Regions from separate parts of the Homo sapiens genome. Here all the other regions are linked to region 1. Evidence: promoter capture Hi-C in human tissues and cell types (Jung and others, 2019). All regions are on one chromosome and are shown on one strand. The core of a region is centred on a gene start or on the middle of the fragment in contact, and the rest is flanking DNA. Distances in the headings are between cores, read along the strand shown.

What was found. The method cuts DNA at HindIII sites, captures the fragments that hold promoters and counts their contacts. A contact is called where the count stands out against the background at its distance.
Region 2: a fragment that was not itself captured here is called in contact with the fragment with the promoter of ANKRD29 in region 1 in 2 of the 25 tissues and cell types used here (dorsolateral prefrontal cortex and spleen).
Region 3: a contact is called between a fragment that was not itself captured here and the fragment with the promoter of ANKRD29 in region 1, in 3 of the 25 tissues and cell types used here (IMR-90 fibroblasts, aorta and pancreas).
Region 4: a contact is called between a fragment that was not itself captured here and the fragment with the promoter of ANKRD29 in region 1, in 3 of the 25 tissues and cell types used here (H1 embryonic stem cells, IMR-90 fibroblasts and lymphoblastoid cells).
Region 5: a fragment that was not itself captured here is called in contact with the fragment with the promoter of ANKRD29 in region 1 in 2 of the 25 tissues and cell types used here (lymphoblastoid cells and thymus).

The regions. Positions count from the first base shown.
Region 1 is chr18:23,661,552-23,664,369 of GRCh38, forward strand. It overlaps ANKRD29 (ankyrin repeat domain 29), which reads right to left and starts at 1,360. Exons shown (of 10, transcript NM_173505.4): 1 at 1,159-1,360. The coding sequence starts at 1,179. The HindIII fragment of the contact is 14,259 bases long and covers 1-2,818 here.
Region 2 is chr18:23,766,869-23,769,686 of GRCh38, forward strand. The region is part of intron 8 of LAMA3 (laminin subunit alpha 3); the gene reads left to right. Among named protein-coding and RNA genes, the nearest start is that of LAMA3, 79 kb to the left of the region's middle. The HindIII fragment of the contact is 6,883 bases long and covers 1-2,818 here.
Region 3 is chr18:23,556,570-23,559,387 of GRCh38, forward strand. It overlaps NPC1 (NPC intracellular cholesterol transporter 1), which reads right to left. Exons shown (of 25, transcript NM_000271.5): 7 at 548-621; 8 at 1-44. Among named protein-coding and RNA genes, the nearest start is that of NPC1, 29 kb to the right of the region's middle. The HindIII fragment of the contact is 8,970 bases long and covers 1-2,818 here.
Region 4 is chr18:23,749,504-23,752,321 of GRCh38, forward strand. It overlaps LAMA3 (laminin subunit alpha 3), which reads left to right. Exons shown (of 75, transcript NM_198129.4): 4 at 1-43; 5 at 1,415-1,585. Among named protein-coding and RNA genes, the nearest start is that of LAMA3, 61 kb to the left of the region's middle. The HindIII fragment of the contact is 7,397 bases long and covers 1-2,818 here.
Region 5 is chr18:23,727,543-23,730,360 of GRCh38, forward strand. All of the region lies in intron 2 of LAMA3 (laminin subunit alpha 3), which reads left to right. Among named protein-coding and RNA genes, the nearest start is that of LAMA3, 39 kb to the left of the region's middle. The HindIII fragment of the contact is 3,457 bases long and covers 1-2,818 here.

The sequences.
Region 1 (2,818 bases), core at 110-2,609:
GAAAAAATTAGCTGGGCATGGTGGCGCACGCCTGTAATCCCAGCTACTCTGGAGGGTAAGGAAGGAGAAATAGCTTGAACCCGGGAGGCGGAAGTTGCAGTGAGCTGAGATCACACCATTGCACTCCAGCCTGGGCAACAAGAGCAAAACTCCGTCTCAGGAAAAAAAACTTTAAAGTCATTCACATTCGTCTGCTTCGTTCCATTCTCACCACCTATGCACTGGTCCAGTACCATTTCTTAAAAAGATGACAACATCTTCCAGCTCCAACCCTCTTCTCCAAACCTAGCCAGAGATCTTTGCAACATGCACATCTCGCCATGTCACTCCTCTGCTTACATGAGCTATTGTCGGCAACGGGATTACAGTGGCTTAGGAGTCAGACACACTTGGGTTTCAGTCTTAACACCATAACTTATTGGCTGCAAAACCGTGGGTGAGTTAATTTCTCTATATCTTAGTTTTCTCATTTGAAAAAAAAAAAAAAAAGAGCCACGAAGAGCACCTCCCACAGGTCTCCCCCAGGGTTGAGACCATACACACCATGTCCTTGGTTCAGAGTCAGGCACATTTGAACTGTTTAATACATTTTAACTGCTATTTTTATTAAACCCTTTCAATCGAGGCAAATCAACCTCTTTCATCCTAAAATGTGGGGATTAGATGGAATGACTTTAATCAACTCTTTTGAGACAAGACACCTTTGGACCCTGAAGCCTCCCTGGGTGCTGGCCACCCCTCCGGGGAGGAGGCATCCGTGGGTGCAGCTGGTACTCCTGCATGAGGACCCAGAGGGTCAGGGTCGGGGACTCCTTCTGCTGCAGGACAGCGCTGACCCCAGGCTTCTTACCCGCCCCCGACCTGTTACCCGGCGACAGTCCCCGCCGCCCCGTCGCCGGGCACAGACTCAGCCGATCCACAGCCATGAGTGCGAAGCCTCTCAGGCAGGGCAGGCAGGCAAACCGCAAACCCACAGGGCGCACCCAGCCCCGCCGCTTCCTCCCGGGCCTCGCCCGCAGCTGGAGGAGAGAGGAAGGAGGAGGCGGCGGGCAGCGGGCAGCGCCCACCCCATCCCACCCCATCCCACCCCACCCGACCCCGCGGGCCCGGCCGCCCGAGCCCGGCCCCAGCCCTGACCCCGGAGTCCCGGTCGCTCACCTTGAAGGACATCCTGCACATGTCCGCGGCCGCCCGAGCGGGAGCCGGCGCGCTTTGGGCCCGGGGCGCCTTGTCCTCCCCGGCCCTTCACTCTCCCGGGGCTCTCGGCGTTCCGCAGAGGGGCGGCCTCCGACGCCGCGCGCTCCCGCCGCCCGGCCCGGCAGCAGCCGCCGCACACAGGGCCGGGCCGAAGGGGCGGCGCGGGGGCGCGCGCGCGCGCACACTACACATGGGGTGTCGCGTGGACGCGCTCCAGGACCTGCCACACACGCGCGTGCACAAACACCCCAAACTCCGCACGCACTGTGCACTTTCCACACACGTCCACACTTCCACACTCACTCGTCCACACACACACTCCAAACTCCACACACATTGTGCATACGCTCCACATTCCACACACACAGAGGTTCCACACACATACTTTCCACACTCACGCCCACTCACCCGCATGTACTCACACACAAACTCCATACATATCCTCCCAAATAGACTGGTCTGCCCCAGAGGACTCCCAACCTTCATTACAGCACAAATATTATAATGATGTAAAAATGAAGCTTGAGGAAAAAATTCATCCAATAGCTATTTTCGTTATAATTTCTTTCTCGGTTTCCTGGGAAACTTTTTTCTCCTGGGGAAAATATCTAGGAAACAAACCTTTTGATTGCACAAACAATAAGTGGTCTTTTCCTCTTTGAAGGGCAAAGGCCAATTTTGGAATAGACTCATACCCCTCCTCCTCCTCCGCGTTATTAATCCAGCAGTTCCCTCCTCCTCTGGGTCTGATGCTGCAGCCCTGGAGTATTGCAGTATGTGTGTCCACTCCTGCTGCCTGCCCAGGATTGGTTTGGGCGAAGTAAAACTGGGAGTTTTAAGTATAAACGGCAACAACAGCTCTTTGAGAGCATTTTAGAAAAGTGAAAGTAAAAAAGTAGCCCAGGCATAGTGGCTCACGCCTATAATCCCAACTCTTTGGGAGGCCAAAGGCGGGCAGATCACTTGAGTCCAGGAGTTCGAGATCAGACTGGCCAACATGGCAAAACTCTATCTCTACTAAAAATACAAAAATTAGCCAGGCGTGGTGGTGCGCACCTGTAGTCCCAGCTACTCGGGAGGCTGAGGTGGGAGGATCGCTTGAACCTGGGAGGTTGAGGCTGCAGTGAGCCAAGATTCGGTCACTGCACTCCAGCCTGGGCAACAGAGCAAGACTCTGCCTCAAAAATAAAAATAAAAACAAAACAAAAAAATAGTATAAAAATGGAGGTCTTACCCCCTCAAACTATAAGAATCCACTCATTCATTCTCCCCCTCCTTCCCTCTTCTCAATTAAATTTGTAACGAATATTTAATTTAAAAGGTAGAAAACAATTACAAATAAAAGTTAATGATAAAAATTAAAATGTTTAACCTTCATGGATAAATTGTATTACTTTGTGCTTAAAACAACTTTAAATTAAAAACATTCTGAACTTTTATAGAAAATTCCAATTTTAAAAATAAGGACTCTAAACATTTTCCTTGCCTTGAGTGCCTATAAATGACACAGTTTTTAAGTTGCCACACAACGTTATTATATAAAAATCAAGCATCAGAGGTTTTGCTTTAATAGTTTTTTGTTTGTTTGTTTGTTTTTTCTTCTCAGATGGAGTTTCGCTCT
Region 2 (2,818 bases), core at 111-2,610, 110 kb after region 1:
AGAGCAATCAGTCAAGAGAAAGATATAGAAGACATTCAAATAGCAAAAGAAAAAGTCAAACTATCTCTCTTTGTTAATGATATGATTCTATACTTAGAAAACCTAAGGACTCTTCCAGAAGGCTTCTGGAACTGATAAACAACTTCAGTAAAGTTTCAGGATACAAAGATCAGTAGCATTTCTATGCACCAATAATGTTCAAGCTGAGAGCCAAATCAAGAACACAATCCCATTTACAGTAACTGCAAAAAACAAACAATAAAAAAAGCCCAAATCTAGGAATACATCTAACCAAGGAGGTGAAAGATCTCTACAAGGACAACTACAAAATACTGACTGAAAGAAATAATAGATGACAAAAACAAATGAAAAGACATTCCATGCTCATGGATTGGAAGAATTAGTAACATTACAGTGGCCATACTGCCCAAAGCAATCTACAGATTCAACGCTATTTCTATCTATGTCATTTTTGACAAAACTATAAAAAACTATTCTAAAATTCAGAAGAAACCAAAAAAAGAGCCCAAATAGCCAAAGCAGCCCTAGGCAAAAAGAACAAAGCCAGAGGCATAACATTACCTGACTTCAAACTATACAGAATACAGAACTCAAAAATAAAGCCACACACCTACAGCCATCTGATCTTCAACAAAGTTAACAAAAATAAGCAATGAGGAAAGGACTTTTTTTCTTTTTTCTTTCTTTTCTTTTTTTTTTTTTTTTTTAGACAGAGTCTTGCTCTGTCACCCAGGCTGGAGTGCAGTGGCACGATCTGGGCTTATTGCACTGCCTCCCGGGTTCCAGTAATTCTCCTGCCTCAGCCTCCCAAGTAGCTGGGACTACAGGTGTGTGCCATCATGCCTGGCTAATTTTTCATTATTAGTAGAAACAGAGTTTCACCATGTTGGCCAGGCTGGTCTCAAACTCCTGACCTCAGGTGACCCACCCGCTTCAGCCTCCCGAAGTGCTGGGATTACAGGTGTCAGCCACCGTGCCTGGCAAGGAAAGGTCTTTCTATTCAATAAATGGTGCTAAGATAGTTGTCTCTCCATGTGCAGAAAAATGAAACTGGACCCCTACCTTTCACCATATATTATACAATAATTAACTCAAGACGGACTAAAGATTTAAATGTAAGACCTCAAACTATAAGAATCCTAGAAGAAAACCTAGGAAACACCATTCTGGACATTGGCCTTCGGAAATAATTTATGGCTAAGTTCTCAAAAGCAATTTCAACAAAACAAAAAATTGACAAATGGGACCTAATTAAACTAAAGAGCTTCTATACTACAAAAAAAAAAAAAACTATCAGCAGAGTAAACAGACAGCCTACAGAGTGGGAGAAAATATTTGCAAACTGTGCACCTAACAAAGGTCTAATATTCGGAATATATGAGGAACTTAAATAGTTCAGCAAGCAAAAAACAAATAACTCCATTAAAAAATGGGCAAAAGACATGAACAGACACTTTGCAGAAGAAGACATACAAGTGGCCAACAAACGTATGAAAAAATGCTCCATATCACTAATCATCATAGAAATGCATGTCAAAACCACAATGAGATATCATCTCACACCAGCTAGAATGGCTATTATTAAAAAGTCAAAAAACAACAAATGCTGCTCAGGTTGCAGAGAAAAGAGAACACTTACTTATACATTGCTGGTGGGGATGTAAATTATTTTAGCCACTATGGAAAGCAGTTTGGAGATTTCTCAAAGAAAACAAAACTACCATTCAACCCAGTAATCCTATTAATTGGCATATATCCAAAAGAAATAAATTATTTCATCAAAAGGTCACATGCACTCATATGTTCATTGGAGCATTATTTACAATAACAAAGACATGGAATCAACCTTGGTGCCTATCAGTGGTGGATTGGATAAAGAAAATGTGGTATATATACATGATGGAATATTACACAGACATAAAAAAGAATGAAATCATACCCTTTGCAGCAGCATGGATGCAGCTGGAGGTCATTATCCTAAGCAAATTAATGCAAAACCGGAAAACCAAACGCCACACGTTCTCACTTTCAAGTGGGAGTTAAACATTGGGTACTCATGGACATAAAGGTGGAAACAATAGACACTGGGGACTACTAGAGGGGAGAGCGAAGAAGGGCGACAAGGGTCGAAAAACTAACTATTGGGTACTATGCTCAGTACCTGGGTGGCAGGATCAATCATACACCAAAGCTGAGCGCCATGCAATATATCCAGCTAACAAATCTGTACATGTACCCCCTGAATCTAAAATTAGAGTTGAATTTTTTTTTTGGAAAAAGAATTTTAGGAAACTACCTACCTTCCCAACCCCTCTTTATTTCCAAATCTCTGCCCTTTTATGGTAATACAATGATCTGTAATTATTTTCCTTTACTCAATCCCATTTGTAAATGTTTTAGAGGAGAGAATAAATAATGGAAAAGGAAAATAAAAGAATATTTTGTAAATAATACTTCAATATAGCTGGAAAAAATTAGAGTATGTAGGGCCGCTTACAACAAAATTTATGACATTGTCTCATGGTATTTATAAAATGCATGTAAATATAATACATATGCAACAATAGCATAAAAAATAATACAATATTAACTCTAATTTGACTGTGAGACGTGAAGGATATATATTGTAGTCCCTAAAACAACTGCTGACAAAATAATGCAAAGAGGTACAGCTAAAAGGCCAATAGATACTTCTAAAGGTAATTTTAAAAACATTCAAATAATCCAAAAAATAGATAAATGAAGGAACAGGGGATGAAGTGCATGCATGTGCGCAAGCACACACACACACAAAACC
Region 3 (2,818 bases), core at 184-2,683, 100 kb before region 1:
GCCCTCAAATGCTGCGCTGACAGGGTCACAGCAGGACGCCTCTCCTGGAAGAACGGGAGAGGAAGGGAAGGTGGAGGTTAAGAGCCAAGCCGTTCCTGAAAGTCGGAACAGGGAAAGCATTAGTTGCTATCTCATGGCAGGAATCAAGCCCACCTGGGGACACATATGAGACCCCTGCCCTCAGCTACCTATCTGCTCAGCAAAGCCACCTTTGTTGGCTGCCCTCAATGAGCGCTATTCCCACCCCACAGAGGAGATGCCGACACAGGAGCCTCTGAAGGGTGAGGTTCAACCCTGCCCTGCTATTCCCACTCTTGTCCTGCTGCTTTCGCGCCTCCCCAGCTATGATTAATTACTTGGTTCTGCTGTGCCACCCTGACTAGATGGTAGGGCCACAAAGGCAAGGACCATGTCTGCCTTGGTCGCAGCCGTGTCCTCGGCACTGGCACACCACCTCACCCACTGCTGCAACCCCACTGAGGAAACGAATGCTCTCATGACAGACAGCATCATCTGAACCCTTTTATTCATGGACAAATATGCCTACCTTTGTCACTTGCATTAACAGAAAAAGCTATATTGCTATCGATGGGAGTGTACTCGGAGACAAAATACCGTTTTCTGAAAAACAGAAGTGAAGAAATAGCATTAGTGGACTTCATCACAGTGAGGTTGTTTTTGGGACATTCCTGTAATCCCATGAAATGCTTTCTTCCTCCTCCTGGCCTCCTCCTCCCTAATTACTGCCTTCTTTCCCCTAAGTCCCCTTGCTCTGGGTCCCTCTGCTCACCAGTCTCAGGAGAAAATTTAAGAAGATGTTAAGAGAACAATTAATAAAGGATAATTTCACCTTGTGGCCCTCATTTTATTTAAAACTTTTAGGTCCTTTAAAAACACACTACTGGGCTAGGCGCGGTGGCTCACGCCTGTAAACCCAGCACTTTGGGAGGCCAAGGTGGGCGGGATCACGAGGTCAAGAGATCGAGACCAACCTGGCCAACATGGTGAAACCCTGTCTCTACTAAAAATACAAAAAGGTTAGCTGGGTGTGGTGGCACGTGCCTTGGGAGGCTGAGGCAGGAGAACTGCTTGAACCAGGGAGGCGGTGGTTGCAGTGAGCTGAGATCGCGCCACTGCATTCCAGCCTGGTGACAGAGCAAGACTCCATCTCAAAAAAACAAACAAACAAACAAAAACATGCTACTCTTTCCAGCAGCAATGAGCATACCTAGTGCCCAGATCTTCGTTTCTACATACCATTCTCCAATAAAAGGAACCAGAGCTCCTTGCAGGGCAGGGACAGGGAATATGTAAGATAAAGCTGGGGATGGGAGGTGTATGTAAGAACACAGAAGCCAGCCAGAAGGCACTCCCAATGGCCCAAAGTGGAAAACTTTGAGTAACAAGATAAATGACAGTGTTGGATACAACCCACAGAATTAAAAGTCCATGATGTAAATAACTGAGTAAATAAATGAGGGAGAAGGGATAGCTTTCTGTACAGAAGTCCAGTTAGTAAATGCAGAGGAAGAGAGGGAAAGAGAAAAAAATCACTATCAGGCAAACACCTTAGTTATAACTGTTGCAGACAAGACCCAACAATGAATGCTAAAATCAGTGGTTGAGTTTCAGGAGGAACAAAATATTAGTATAGTCTCAAAGCATCTTCCCCCAAGATATTTATCAATTACGAAGGGAAAAGCAGTAACTTCACAGTGGAGATAGCCAGCAGACATCACCTTGAGCAAGTGATCAAGGTTAACATCACCAGGAAAGAGACGCATCAACATCAGGGATCCCTGACATGATGCACCGAGAAAGACATAACATGACTTCTGTGATGTACTTGTCAAAACACCTTATTTCAATCTCATCATGAGAAAATACCAGATAAAGCCAAATGGAAGGACATGCTACAAAATACCTGACCAGTATCATCAAGAGTGTTAAGGCCAGAAAAGGAAAGACTGAGGAACTTTCTGTCACAGATTAGAGGGGACTCATAAAACACAAAAATGTAATATGGGACCTTGAAACAGGGAAGGGCATTAGAGAAAAAGCTGGTGAAATCTGATTAAGATCTCTGGTTTAGCTAATAATAATGTAATAATAATGGCATGGTCGTGGTTTTGATCATTGTACTATGAGTTTTTTTTTTAATTATTATTATACTTTAAGTTTTAGGGTGCATGTGCACAACGTGCAGGTTTGTTACGTATGTGTACGTGTGCCATGTTGATGTGTTGTACCCATTAACTCGTCATTTAGCATTAGGTATATCTCCTAATGCTATCCCTCCCCCAGGCCCCCACCCCACAACAGTCCCCGGTGTGTGACGTTCCCCTTCCTGTGTCCATGTGTTCTCATTGTTCAATTCCCACCTATGAGTGAGAACATGCGGTGTTTGGTTTTTTGTCCTTGCGATATTTTGCTGAGAATGATGGTTTCCAGTTTCATCCAAGTCCCTACAAAGGACATGAACTCATCATTTTTTATGGCTGCAGAGTATTCCATGGTGTGTATGTGCCACATTTTCTTAATCCAGTCTATCGTTGTTGGACATTTAGGTTGGTTCCAAGTCTTTGCTATTGTGAATAGTGCCGCTATAAACATACGTGTGCATGTGTCTTTATAGCAGCATGATTTATAATCCTTTGGGTATATACCCAGTAATGGGATGGCTGGGTCAAATGGTATTTCTAGTTCTAGATGTACTATGAGTTATGTAAGTTGTATCATCGGGGAAACTGGGTTAAGGATACACATAAATTCTACCATTTTGCAACTTTTTGGTTAAGTCTACAATTATTTCAAAATA
Region 4 (2,818 bases), core at 117-2,616, 88 kb after region 1:
TGTTACTGAATATTCCCGTATTGTACCTTTGGAAAATGGTGAGGTAAGTAGATTTGGAAGACTGGGAGAGATAAGACTCAGAAATGACCATGAGGATATCCAATTTTTCATAATTGCGAAACTTGCACTTTCAAGGACATCTAACATAGATCAAGATGGAAACAGGGCTTGGGACTGAACAGTAAAGGAATCACATTGAGGGCTCCCAGAATGAGCCAGGTTGGAAATTCTGTTGGGGGATTTCAGTTATCCCCAGAAAGTCAGGATTCTTGATCCAAAGCCCGCAGGTCTTGAACTGTCCTTTCTGGTGATGTATTTATAAAGTGGGTTGCTGGTAACTGAAATGATGACCCCTTACCTCTTCACCTATGATCCCATGATACCCCGTAAGAGTGAGGAGAGGAAGGACAGGTGGCAGCAGGTAGATTTTCTCTATACTGTCTCTTCCCTCATCTGATGACCAGATGTAGGGGATCCAGAGGAGGACTCTGAGGTCCTACAGAACGGCTGCACCTCTAGATAGAAAGAGCCTGCTTCCCTGAATGACTGCATGGAGCCGATCCTACGTGATCCCTGATCCCTTTTGGTAGAATGGGTGTAATCTGTTGGAGAGAAAAAATTGCTGTCCCTGTGGGGTTGCATTTGGCCCTTGTAAAGTCAGGTTGGCTATTGTTAAGGGAGATGGGCAAACAAAGGTGAAACAATCAGAGAAGATTTCCATGGAAATTGTGAGGCCATAATGAATATGAACTGAGTTTCAAATAAACTTCCTTCAAAGGTGTCAGCCTCCCTCTCTTTAAGTAGAGAGATCTTACTTGAGCATGTGTATGCGGTATCTTCTGACAGCTCATGAGTGGTTCATATTTCCAATGGTTGACACTTGGGCTTCATCACTTTGGGCTTTAAAACAAAATGGAGGGTTTACACAGTTTTTTTTTTTTTTTTTTTTTTTTTTTTTTTTTTTGCCCCATTACTGTCAAACTTTATATCTAGAGATTTCCTTTTTTCAACCTCATGTAGATTTTTGGGTTACTTTAGCTTTGTTTCTTTGATGCAGCTTAAGAAAGTTGTGTCCTTATATTTACAGGTTTTAACATTATGTTTTCAACATTTCATAGTGTTACAGTCCCACAACTACCCTGATAGAACAAAGGCTTTGAAAACGTAATGATAACATCTCCCGAGAGCCCAGATTTCAAAGACGTATTGCCAGACCTTGGAACCAGGAAGTGTGAGGGAAGATGGGACTAGCAATGATGTTTTTAGACATAAACAAGACCCAAGACCCCCTACGAATATCAAATGGCTCAAAGAAACCAAGTGCCTTGGGGCATGTGAGTTATTTTTACTTACTTGCTGCTAAATTTTGATAAAAGGAACTTTTTCCCCCTTTATGTGTGTGTGGTCATTTTAGGTTGTGGTGTCCTTGATAAACGGTCGTCCAGGTGCAAAAAATTTTACTTTCTCTCACACCCTGAGGGAGTTTACCAAGGCAACAAACATCCGCTTGCGTTTTCTTAGAACCAATACGCTTCTTGGACACCTCATCTCCAAAGCCCAGCGAGATCCAACTGTCACTCGGCGGGTGAGTAGTCAGAGCATTTGTTTTGTTACTTTATTTATTCATTTTTTTGGCTTACCAAATTAATTGCCTTGAACTCTTTTAAGTAACCTTTATAGCCTGTAATGATGTAGGTGTGGGAGTTGTTCTTATCTGAAATACTAGATATAATTAGGAGTTTATATCTAATGACTTATAAAAATGGCTGTTTGAAGAAAAATCATTATATTCAAAGAAGATGAAAGGCAAATGATTATAGTCAGCCTGGTACTAGTCTGGATGGGATAATTAATACTACAGCCAACAATTCCCAAATCTCAGTGGCTTAACAAAATAAAGCTTTGTTTCTTGCTCCTATTACAGTTTAACATGGGTCAGCAGGTAGGATCGGCTCCACACAGTAATTCAGGGAAGCAGGTTCTTTCTATCCAGAGGTGCAGCCATTTTGTAGGACCTCAGAGTCCTCCTCTGGATCCCCTACCTCTTGGTCCTCAGATGAGGGAAGAGAGAGTATAGAGAAAAATCTACCTGCTTCTCATCAGAGGTTACTTCTATGGGCAAGAACTGGTCATATCATAGCCTCACTTAGATGCAAGGAGGCTGGGTGATGTCATCTAGCTGAAATGGAGGCACATAGGTATTGGTGAGCACTAGTACCCTCTCCTGTGTTGGAGGTACACCATGAACATCTCTCACTCTCAGGTGTCAGGGCAGTACACTTGTCTCCTGGGCACAGAGGGAGCCCACAGAATAAACACATTGAGCTCACTCTTCTTCCACCCTCTGATCTACTGGTGCCTTCCATTGGCCAAAGCAAACAAGAAGCCAGAGAGAAAGACAGTCCATTGGTTGCAACCATAAAGTTCAGCTCCTGGGCACAGGACAGGGTGGAGAACGTGGAGAGCAGATCTGGAGGGTGAATGGAAGATGCCCAGTGCACCTTATAGAGTTTGGCTTTTTATATAGGTAACATCAGAGAGCTGGGAAAGGAAGGGAGGGAAAAGTATAAGTATTGCCACAGTTTTGAGCATTTTCCAGAAAGGCAGGCACCTTGGGTGTAGGTGGCCTATCTTTTGTATTTTTTTGCTCTCCTCAGCTCCCTCTGAGCTTCTGTGTAGTTGGGGACTGTGTTGAATCTGAGGATGGATATTTACAAGGGAGGGCTGGACTTTCTCATAAACTATAGCCGGGCTGTGTTTCTGTTCCTCCATGTGCCCTGGAGCACTGCCACAAATGTACCCTACCAATTTTTTTTTT
Region 5 (2,818 bases), core at 198-2,697, 66 kb after region 1:
CTCCAACTTCTGACCTCAGGTGATCTGCCTGCCTCGGCCTCCCAAGGTGCTGGATTATGGGCATGAGCCACCTCCCCTGGCCCCTTGTTTTATTGTGAATGAGTAACAAACAGTTCCTGGACCAGCACTGGTCCATGGACCACACTTTGAGTAGTGCTGCTCTAGGCCATGTATTGTAACTTTTCTTTTCTTTCTGTTTTATTTTGAGATAGGACCTTGCTCTGTCGCCCAGGCTGGAATGTAGTGGCGTGATCATAGCTCACTGGAGCTTCGAACTCCAGAGCTCAAGTGATCCTCCTGCTTCAACCACCCCAGTAGCTAGGAGCACAGGCACGTGCCACCACACCCCACTATTGATTTTATTTTATTTTTGTAGAGATAGGGTCTCACTATGTTGTTCAGGCTGGTCTTGGACTCCTGGCTTCAAGTGATCCTCCTGCCTCGGCCTCCCAAAGTGCTGGCACTACAGCTGTGAGCCACTGGTGCCTGGCCTACTGAACCTTTTCTTCAGAGCTTCAGAGCTATTCAGATACATCCTGAAAAGGCCTCCTCTTCTCTGCTACCTCAAGTCTCTCCTCTGGCTCAGATTTGGTGATGTAGTTCAAGATACATTTGTTCATTATTTGAAACTTTAAACAGCCCAAGCCCTCTTGTGACCCAGATAGTCTCCCTCCTATCTGTCCACTTACGCCTGTTCTGTGCCCAGTGACCCAGGCTGGTGACCTTCCTGGACAGCAGCAACAGGCTGGGGGGAGGTATCCCAGGTGCTCAGGGGGTAGGAGGGCAAGGACAATGGGGCATTTGGTCCCCCAGCTGCCTCTGTTGGCCCATAGGCTGCAGTATCCCAGCTGTTTCATCCTAAGGAGGATCTTGGCTCCTGGCAGGCAACTCACTGTAAGGCTCCAGCTCTGTCTGGGATCCAGCATCTGTTCCCTCTCCTTCCCCTTCAGCCCAGGGTAGGAGAGGTCCTCAGATCTTCTTAGCTCTGAGATGCTTCCCCATTACCAGAAGGCTTCCCTCCTGCTGCCACTGCCTTTGTCAATGCTGTAGGTGCTTTATTAAGCTCTCCTCAATCACTTCCTTCTAGTAGGAAGGAAGTGTCTATCCCTGGGACTATGAGTGACACGCAGCCTTCTGACTTGCTTTTCTACTGGCTGAAATTTGCCAAAGCTCTCCAGTTGTCATCTTTTAAAGAATGAAGGGAAACGGCTGGTGCAGTGGCTCACTCCTGTAATCCCAGCACTTTGGGAGGCCGAGGCAGGCGGGTCACCTGAAGTCAGGAGTTCGAGACCAGCCTGGCCAACATGGTGAAACTCTGTCTCTACTAAAAATACAAAAATTAGCTAGGTGTGGTGGTGCGCACCTATAGTCTCAGCTACTCAGAAGGCTGAGACGGGGTAATCGCTTGAACCCGGGAGGCAGAGGTTGCAGTGAGCGGAGATCGTACCGCTGTACTCCAGCCTGGGCAACAGAGCAAGACTCCGTCTCAAAAAAAAAAAAAAAAAAAAGAATGAAGGAAAGTATTGAGGGGTGACCATACTGAAGTTTTTAAAAAGTGCATATGATGTATTGTGTGTGTATGTGTGTGTGTGTGTGTGTGTGTGTGTGTGTTTGTGTGTGTAGAGAGAGAGAGAGACAGAGAGATCTCAACTGAATTATGACTGGAGTACAGAATAATATTCTGTCCCTTTCTGTATCCCCACCACCTAGGAGAATGTCTGGTATGTAGAAATAATCCAGCAAATGTATACTTCGTGTATGAATGAATGAAGATACAGAGACTTCCTTACTTATGTCTGCCCTATTCTCATATGTCCCTCATATACATACCAAAGCCATACATATGCAACAGATAGTAAAAATATTTGTCTTTTATAACTTGGAACACACTGAAGACATAATGAAAAGGTTGGATCTTTGGTCATTTAGAGTATTAATTGTATTAATTTAAATATTTCAAAAATAGATGGTAGGGAGAAAGTATGTTGCTCTTTTGTGGTAGATAATCTTGTAAGTCTTCGAAAACTCTTCAACATCTGCTTCAAAAGGTAATCATTTAGAATTTAAAAATGATTATATATATATATGGCAGATATAACATAAATTTACTGTTAACATAATTCACATGCTAGAAATTGACCTAAGCACTTTACCATTATTAACTCATTTAATCCTCACTGCAAGCTTATGAGGTGGGTCCCCACGTTCTAGAAGGGGAAATGGGAAGCCCAGAGATGTTTCATAGCCTCACAGGGTTGTATGGGATAGACCCGGGATTTGCTCCCCCAAGTCTGGCACCAGAGCCAGCCTTAGGCGCTGTGTGATGGCAATGTACGTGACGCTCCCGTCCTGTCTGTGCTGGGCTTAGCTGGAATGCTCATGGCCCGTGTGGGTGTTTGGTCATAATTGCTGTCCCTCTCGCAGGATGCTGTCATGATGTTGTTCATCACTGCCCACTGTGTTCCCCTGCAAAGATCCATTTGGACAATCCCTTTAGTCCCGGAATAGTTGTGCTTCTTTAGGACATTAAAAAACGAAATAAAACAAAAATGTATGGACCCTGGGATTAAGTTTCCCTCTTTTTGCTGGCTACTAGAAGCATAGGGGCAAATGTATGGCTCCACCATGCAGGTGGACACAGCTTCATGGCCTGCATTATTTTGTGTGCAAACCTCATTACAGGTTCCAACATTTCATCCCTATCTGTAATTTTGCTTTTACTCCTTTTTTTTGTTTTTGATTTTTGGTGATTTCACATTGCCATTTTCTTTCCATCCTTATACACTGCCCTCAATCTCCTCCCCAGTCTTTTTTTCTT